Regions from separate parts of the Homo sapiens genome. Here region 1 is linked to region 2. The links are contacts of gene promoters, found by promoter capture Hi-C in blood cells and fetal thymus (Javierre and others, 2016). All regions are on one chromosome and are shown on one strand. Each heading gives the region's core, a stretch centred on a gene start or on the middle of the fragment in contact. The rest is flanking DNA. Distances are from core to core; before and after follow the strand shown.

The links. Contacts are between HindIII fragments. The CHiCAGO score rates a contact against its expected background, and 5 or more counts as called.
Region 1: a contact is called between a fragment that was not itself captured here and the fragment with the promoter of UNC13A in region 2, in 4 of 17 cell types (M2 macrophages, M0 macrophages, M1 macrophages and 1 more). The highest score is 8.5, in M2 macrophages.

Annotation. Positions count from the first base shown.
Region 1 is chr19:17,769,588-17,774,010 of GRCh38, forward strand. It overlaps FCHO1 (FCH and mu domain containing endocytic adaptor 1), which reads left to right. Exons shown (of 29, transcript NM_015122.3): 8 at 838-990; 9 at 1,205-1,309; 10 at 2,870-2,968; 11 at 3,058-3,154. Among named protein-coding and RNA genes, the nearest start is that of FCHO1, 20 kb to the left of the region's middle. The HindIII fragment of the contact is 7,982 bases long and covers 1-4,423 here.
Region 2 is chr19:17,685,511-17,689,786 of GRCh38, forward strand. It overlaps UNC13A (unc-13 homolog A), which reads right to left and starts at 2,844. Exons shown (of 44, transcript NM_001080421.3): 1 at 2,668-2,844. The coding sequence starts at 2,689. RefSeq lists enhancers at 1,024-1,985, 1,986-2,946 and a silencer at 2,180-2,362. The HindIII fragment of the contact is 13,980 bases long and covers 1-4,276 here.

The DNA of each region.
Region 1 (4,423 bases), core at 1,114-3,613, 84 kb after region 2:
CACACACACACACACACACACACACACACACACACACACACACACAAAACGGTGAGTTAAGCAACACAGTCTGCCACTGTTTGTCATAAAACTTGGGTTAGAACAAGCATCTTTATCCATATGCGGATTATTTCTAGAGAAGTATCACAGTAATAATTGGGGACTTCTAGGCTGGAGGGCCCATATATGGGAGGCTTTTTCCTGGCTTACCTCTTACAACTTTCTGAAATATGAACCATGTGTAAATAGTACTTTTTTTTAAAGTTAAAAATGTTTTGAAATGAAAAACGTACAGGCCGGGCGTAGTGGCTCACACCTGTAATCCCAACACTTTGGGAGGCTGAGGCAGGTGGATTGCTTGAGTGTAGGAGTTTGAGACCAGCCTGGGCAACATAGCAAGACCCCATTGCTATTAAAACACACACACAGAGGCCGGGCGTGGTGGCTCACACCTGTAATGCCAGCACTTTGGGAGGCCAAGGTGGGCAGATCACCTGAGGTCAGGAGTTAGAGACCAGCCTGGCCAACATGGTGAAACCCCGTCTCCACTAAAAATACAAAAAATTATCTGGGTGTGATGGTGAGCACCTGTAATCTCAGCTACTTGGGAGGCTGAGGCAGGAGAATTGCTTGAAACCGGGAGGCAGAGATTGCAGTGAGTCGAGATCGTGCCACTGCACTCCAGCCTGGACAACAAGAGCGAAACTCTGTCTAAAAAAAACCAAACCAAAACACACACACACACATAGAAAAAGACTGTGGAGCTGACATCACGTGGAGTGTTTGGGAGGTCAGGAATTTCACAGTCTACCCATGAAATCCCCTCCTACCCCGCAGTGCAAGGAGGAAGTGGTGAGCACCTTGGATGCTGTGCAGGTACTCTCGGGCGTCAGCCAGCTCCTGCCCAAGTCCCGCGAGAACTACCTGAACCGTTGCATGGACCAGGAGCGGCTGCGGAGGGAGAGTACCAGCCAGAAGGAGATGGACAAGGTGGGCTCACAGTGGGGGGGTTCTGAGGAATTTGCCGCGGGGCGGAGGGGCTGCCTGATCAGAGAGTGGAAACACATCCCAGAGCGACGGTCCTGGAACCTGTGGGTGATCACACCCTGGGTACCCCGAGGAGTTCACCTGCCAGGTGATGGGGCCTGGGGGAGGCCCCCTGAGTATCGCCCTCCCATCCCCGTTTCCTCCCTGTGCTTTGTAGGCGGAGACTAAAACCAAGAAGGCGGCAGAGAGCCTGCGGCGCTCAGTGGAAAAATACAACTCAGCCCGAGCTGACTTTGAGCAGAAGATGCTGGACTCAGCCCTGGTAAGAACCAGGCATCTGTACCTTTAAGACCCACACATGCCTTTGCCCTGGAGGTTATGGACTGCAGAAATCCCAGGCAGGGTGTGGTGGCTCACACCTGTAATCCCAGCACTTTGGGAGGCCGAGGCGGGAGGATCACCTGAGGTCAGGAGTTTGAGACCAGCCTGGCCAACATGGCGAAAGCCTGTCTCTACTAAAAATACAAAATTAGCCGGGCGTAGTGGCAGGTGCCTGTAATCCCAGCTACTCAGGAGGCTGAGGCGGGAGAATCACTTGAACCAGAAGGCGGAGGTTGCAGTGAGCCAAGATCGAGCCATTGTACTCCAGGTTAGGTGATAGAGTGGAACCCTGTCTCGAAAAAATAAAATAAATTCAAGCAGATTGGAATCTGAGGATTAGGAATCAGAACTTTTTTCAAGTTACAAGTGATAGAAGCCTTCATTCAAACCGACAGGTGTATATAAAAAAAAAAAAGAAAAGAAAAGAAAAAGGCTGGGCGCGGTGGCTCATGCCTGTAATCCCAGCACTTTGGGAGGCCGAGGCAGGTGGATCACGAGGTCAGGAGATCGAGACTATCCTGGCTAACACGGTGAAACCCCCTCTCTACTAAAAATACAAAAAAATTAGCCGGGCGTGGTGGTGGGTGCCTGTAGTCCCAGCTGCTCAGGAGGCTGAGGCCGGAGAATGGCGAGAACCCAGGAGGCGGAGCTTGCAGTGAGCCGAGATTGCGCCACTGCACTCCAGCCTGGGCGACAGAGCGAGACTCTGTCTCAAAAAAATAAAAAATAAAATAAAAAATAAAATTTAAAAAAACTGACAAGCTCAGGGAACTGTAAAGTTTTATTTTTGAGTTGTGGAGGTTTCAGTCATAGCTGAATCCATGTGCTCAAATAGTGCTGGCAGGAAATTGTGAATTTCTGCTTCTTTTATTTTTTTGAGATGGGATCTCTCTGTCACTCAGGCTGGAGTGCAGTGGCGTGATCTCAGCTCACTGCAACCTCCGCCTCCTGGGCTCAAGTGATTCTCCTGCCTCAGCCTCCCTAGTAGTTGGGATTACAGGCACGTGCCACCACACCCAGCTAATTTTTGTATTTTTAGTAGAAACGGTTTCACCATGTTGCCCAGACTGGTCTTGAATTCCTGACCTCAGATGATCCACCTGCCTTGGCCTCCCAAAGTGCTGGGATTACAGGCATGATACACCACAGCTGACCACTATTTCTGCTTCTTAAGTCTGTTTTTCTCTCTGGGGACATCACTCCCACACAGACATCCCCTTGTGTGTGTGTGTGTGTGCATGTGTGTGCAAGCATGCACATGTGTGCATCAAACTGGGCACCAGCAACCCCCACTTACATCCCATCAGCACATTGGCTCAGGAATGGAAGTGCCTTTTCCTGTAGAGTCAATGAAAGTCCTAGGGCAGACTCTCATTGGCCCTTCCCCAAATCAATCACTGAGCCAAGGGCTTAGGGTATTCTGATTGGTCAGGCTGAGTCATATGGCCACTTCTTCTTGGCCCTGACCTCCTTTCCACCTGCCTCTGCCCTCCTGCTTCAGCGCTTCCAAGCCATGGAGGAGACACACCTGAGGCACATGAAGGCACTGCTGGGCTCATATGCTCACTCGGTGGAGGACACGCACGTGCAGATTGGGCAGGTGAGTTGGGCAGGTGTGAGGAATGAGGCTGGGGTCACTGCTGGGCAAAGGGGCCTTGACCAGTTACACACCCCGCCCACCCGGCACAGGTGCATGAGGAATTTAAGCAGAACATCGAGAACGTCAGCGTGGAGATGCTACTCAGGAAGTTTGCAGAGAGTAAGGGCACAGGCCGGGAGAAGCCTGGTGAGTCAGGGCAGCCATTGGGGGTCGGGCTTCGGGGCCACAGCTGCAGACAGGCATGTGCCACCATGCCCAGCTAATTTTTTTTTTATTTTTTTATTTTTAATAGAGACGAGGTTTCACCATGTTGGCCAGGCTGGTCTCGAACTCTTGACCTCAGGTGATCTGCCTGCCTCGGCCTCCCAAAGTGCTGGGATTACAGGCGTGAGCCACTGCACATGGCCAGGCCTTGGTTTCTTCATGGGAAAAATGGGCTGCTGACAAGTCCAGCTCTCCAGCCTGATCTTATGTGTAAATGTCTTTGAACCAGATCCCAGAGGAGCCTTGAATGCCAGGCTTGGCTGATCAGACTTCACCCCCAGGGCCTAAGGGAGCCATTGAGGGTTGTTGAGCAAAAGAACAATTTGGGAATGCGCAGATGCAGGACTGGGAAGGAGTTAAGAGCAAAAGTTTTAGAGTGAGACGTGGGTTTGAGTCTTTTCTTCATCGCTTGCTGTGTGACCTAGGACCTGTGCTTTGACTTCTCTGAGCCTCAGTTTCCTCATCTGTAAAGTGAGGATGTAATAATGTTGCAACATTCAGTGATTTCATGCAGGTAAAGGGCAAAGGGTGTGCCAGGCACACAGTAGGCACTCACTAAATGCTGGTATACAGTTACGTCCTCAAGTCTTGTTAACTAGCAAAACCTGTTCTTTCTCCCTCCTGTCGCTCTGGCTCAGGCCTGGCTCAGGTCTCCCCTCCCTGCATGGGGCCCCACTCTTGCCCTTCACAGGCCCCAGATCTGTTTTGTCCTCCTCCTGCTCACACACCTTCCATGGCTCCCCATTGTTCTTGGGAGAGAGTTCCCACTCCTTATCCTGTCACTCAAAGCCCAGCCCACTGCACAGACGCATGGTCCATTCCCCGACCCAACCCAAGTTCCAGCCACAAATGCTGGAAGTATGTAGAAGTAGCTCATGTCACCCCCTGCGGTGGCACTGCCCTGCTGGAACCAGACCAGCCCCTTGGTCCATCCCACTTCTGATGATGTGGGGCTGGTTCTTGTCCGGGAACCTGATGGACCTTGAGTTCAGATCCAGGTGCCATTTTGTGGCCAAAAGTGTACTACCCTTTCCAAGCGCAGTCTCCCCACCCTCAATTTAGTTTCTTTCTCTCTCTCTCTCTCTTTTTTTTTTTTTTTTAATTTTTTTGAGGCAGAGTCTTGCTCTGTCACCCAGGCTGGAGTGCAGTGGTGCAGTCTCGGCTCACTGCAACCTCCGCCTCCTGGGTTCA
Region 2 (4,276 bases), core at 1,594-4,093:
ATCTTTATGTGACATGTATATTGTGAGCATTCATCAGACACGTGGATACATCTATATGCGTGCTGGCAGACACACACACTCACACGTGTGTTGCTGGGACTATATCTGTAGCGGCAGACTGTGTCCTATATACACGTGTATGCTTGTGTTCACACAGGCATTTGAGTACACACGTGTGCCTACGGAATGTGCCTTCCCAGGCACATGGTCTGCGTAGAGCCTTCATACATCCTAAGCATTTGTGTCCACACAGGAACAAGTCTGGGTATGAATGTGTGTAGGGATTGGCAAACGCCTGTGGGTCCCCGGTGGAGGGGAGGGGGGACAGGTATTTCCTCAGCTGAGCTCAGGCAACACGGCAACCCATCTCAGCCTAGCTTCACTCCTGCCAAGCCCACCCCAACATCTCTCGTGCTCAGCCATCCCAGCCCCTCCCCTCTCTGGGCACCATCCCACCTCTCCCTGGGAGACTGGCCTCACCCAGCACTTCTCCCTCTCCCCACCCCTCCCTGCCTCCTACTCCTCCTCACTCCAACCTCACACCTCCCTTTACACCTGAGGGCCTTACCTCCCACCCCTGTCAACCTCTTCCCCAGCCTTGCCCCTCCCAGCGATTCCTCTCCACTCAGCCGGGCCCCTCCCTGTAAAGTCCACAGAATCCAGCACAGTCCTCCCCCAACGTCTCTGTTTCTGGAAGCCTCATCCCTCTTGCCTCCTGCTGCCCCCCCTTAATGCCACCCCCGCAGCCGAGCCTCCTGTTTGCGTCAGAGTTAAGGGTGAGATCCCCGCCCCCCCCCCCCCCCCCCCACTCCACTAGGCAAACCTTCCAGAGAAGCCCAACTTGGAGGATGTGAGGCGGGGTGGGGCGGGATGCTGGGGGGAGAAGAGAGAGGATAGAGGAGTCAGCCAAGAACACCCACGTCGGAACCTCCTCCAGTGCCACCTTTAAGAGCCCGGCTACTTAGAGCAGGGGGAGAGGTCAGTAGGGGGTCTGGACATTCAAGTTCTCCTCCCATTCCGTCCTCAGGCCTAGGCGGTGGGGGTCGCCTAGGGGTCTCCTTCACTTCCCTACTCCCCTAACTCCATAGGCCTGGAGGCTAGGGGATGGAGGAGTTGACCTTTGACTCTAGGGACCCTTCTTCCACCACCCCCAGCCCCGTCCAGCAGAAACGAGCTTAGAGAAAGTAGGCCCCTGTCCCTTTAAGAACACCCGCGTCCACGCCGGCCCAGCCCGGCCGGATTTGCACTCGGAAGCTGCCGCGGCGGGGAGCGGGCGGGCGGGGCAGGGTTTGTGAATGAATCGGCCGAGGGGGAGGGGAGGGAGGAGGAGGGGCGGCGGGGGCGGTTCCCGGCTCCCCGGCCTGCCCACCCTGTGTCCAGGCAGCAGGAGTTCAGCACACGCACGCTTCCTGTCGCCCGAGGTCTCCCGAAGCCTGCAGTCTCAGGCTTGGCAGACACACCCCTTCCCCCACCCCAGCCTTCTTGAAATGGGTGGGAGTGACGGGGGGACCCCAGTCCTTAAGAACCAGGGGTTCAGAGCTCTGTAGGCGTGGAACGGCGGTCCACATCCACCCCTGCCGCCCAAGGTCTCCCAGAGTTTGATTTCTCAAACGGGAGTGCCCAGAACGCCTGGGTTCGGTTGGGCTGGCTTCCCCACGACCCCAGAGCCATAAAGGTGTGGGGTGGGGGGTCATGCCCCTCCCACGTCTCCCTCCCTCCTCCAACCCCAACGCAGAGCGTGGGCCTGGGCGTGGGCCTCTGTGCAGATGGCGTTCTGGCCCCAAAATAGCTCCCCCCCCACCTCACGTCTCCCTCCCTCCCTCTCTCCAGTGCAAAGTGGGTGAGGTGAGGATGGGCCAGGAGGGGGACCAGGAGACATTGCTCTTCCAAGAAGTAGGCTCCCTGCCGAGAAGGCCCTGAAACGTGTTTGGGAGAACCGGAGGGGGCAGGGAGCGGGAAGACCTTCTGGACATTCCTCCAACCCCCTCACTCGGGAGGCCAAAGAGTTAACTGGAAAAGCGCCCCCAGACCTCCAGTCACAGCCCTCTCTGGACGCTGGGAGGGGTCTCCTGTCTCCACACTCCCCCCACTCCAGTCCTCTTTACACCTAGGGCTGGGAGAGTCCTAGAACTCGTGGATGCCCTGATGGCCAAGCCCCTCTACCTATATCTTACATCCCCACGGCTTGGAGAACCCTCCCACCGCACTCTCCTTCGAATTTCCAGCCGGGTCCGCGTCCATGAGGACCCGTAACCCAGCCCACAACACCAGACCCCTTCCAAGCACCCCTGCAGGCTTCAATCAAACTACCGAGCCCAGACTCTTCCTCACTGACCCTCTAAAAACCTGGTCTACACAGACGCCCCAGTCTAGATCGTTTCCGGGTAGAACCCCGGATACCCGTCCACGTCCACACGGGCCTCCGCGTTCAGCCGCGTCCACACGACCCCTCCAGCAGCGGCCACCAGGACCCCCGAGAGCCCTGCCGCGTCTACACGGATCACCCCCTCCGGGGCCCAGCTGCGTCGACAAGGGCTACCCCTCTCAAAAGTCCAGCCACCTGGACTCGGGTCACCCCCCAGGAACCCCCTGGGAGCCGCATCCACGCGGACCCCGACCCCAGCCCGCGTCCACACGGGTCCCCCGACCCCCAGCCTCGCCTCCTACCTCCAACGCAAAGCAGAGACATGTCTCCGAGCTCGCAGGTGGGCCGGAGGCGGCCGGGCCGGCTCTGTCGGGTCGGGCTCAGCGGCCGCTGGGCTGGGGCATCTCCCGGCTGCAGCCCGCGCTTGGCTCACGCCGGGGCCCGGCCGCCACCGGCCATCTTGGTTCAGCACCGGGGGCGCGGACAGCGCCTGACGTGGCGCTGATGCGGGGCGGGCAGGCGGAGCCCAGGGACGCCTGATGGGGCGGGGGCGCTGCGGGCTGGGGGGGCGTTAAAGGGCCTGGCTCCGGGAAGGGGCGCCTCGCCCCACACCTCCTCGTTGCAGGGGGACAAGGGGCGACGGCGGCCCCCAAGCAGGTTTCCTCCTGTGCAGACCCTCACCTGCACTGAAATGGTGCACGTGCCCCCGCCACCCATGCATGGACATTCCTGCCCTGGTAACCTGGGCAAACGCCTCCCTGCAATACTCAAGCAAGTACAGGCAAATGCAAGCTCTTGTGTGTACGCCCGGCACCAGCACCGGGCAGATGGTCCTGTTCTCTGAGTATCTCTCTTCCTCTGTCTCTACGTCTCTGTCTCTCTAACTCTACTGCCTGGTCTCTTTCTCTCCCTGGGTCTCTGTTCCTCTGACTCTGTCCACTGCTCTCTCAGTCATGTGTCTCTTAGCCTCTCTCTGTAAAGTCTTTTTGCAGCTCTACTGCATCCTGTCTAGGTCTCTCTCTATGTCTCTAAGCCATCCAGCCCATGGGTCCTTGCCCACACTCTGAACTCCTTTTCATCCATCAATGTCTTGTCTGAATATCCTCTCCTCCAGGAAGGCTTCCCTGACTGCCCCAAGCTGAGCCTTTGTTTCTCCTCTCTGGACTCCCCCAGCCCCTATCCCTTCCTCTGATTGGGCCCTGACCCGAACGAAACTCTGCCACTCCTCCCCACTTTTCTTTTTTTTAGATGGAGTCTCCCTCTGCAGCCCAGGCTGGAATGCAGTGACGCAATCTTGGCTCACTGCAACCTCTGCCTCCTGGGATCAAGAGATTCTCCTGCCTCAGCCTCCCCGAGTAGCTGGGACTACAGGCGCATGCCACCATGCCCAGCTTTTTTTTTTTATTTTATTTTTTTTATTTTTAGTAGAGACGAGGTTTCACCATGTTGGCCAGCCTGGTCTTGAACACTTGACCTCAGGGGATCCGCCCATCTCGGCCTCCCAAAGTGCTGGGATTCAGACCTGAGCCACTGCGCCTGGCCCCCTCCCCACATATCAAACTGGGCAGCTCCATGTGGGCCCCTTGCCCTGCAACCTGCTCGCTGTATCACTGGCACCTAAACTAGCATGAAAGGCTGAGCCCCACAGGGTCTCCTGCCCCCAGCCCACATGAAAGAGCTTCATAAATGCAGAATGTGCATGGAGTTGAGTGAGGCCATTGTTCAAAACCAAACTCTGTCTCTCATCACAAGCATGGCCTTGGGCAGGTCTTGTGACCTCCTCGTGCCTCAGTTTCCGCACCTGTAGAATGAATATGATAACAAGTCCTGCCTCACAAGGTTGCTGGAGGTATTACATGAGTTAACATGTGAAACCAGTTGTAATTTTTTTTTTTTTGGAGGTGTAGTCTC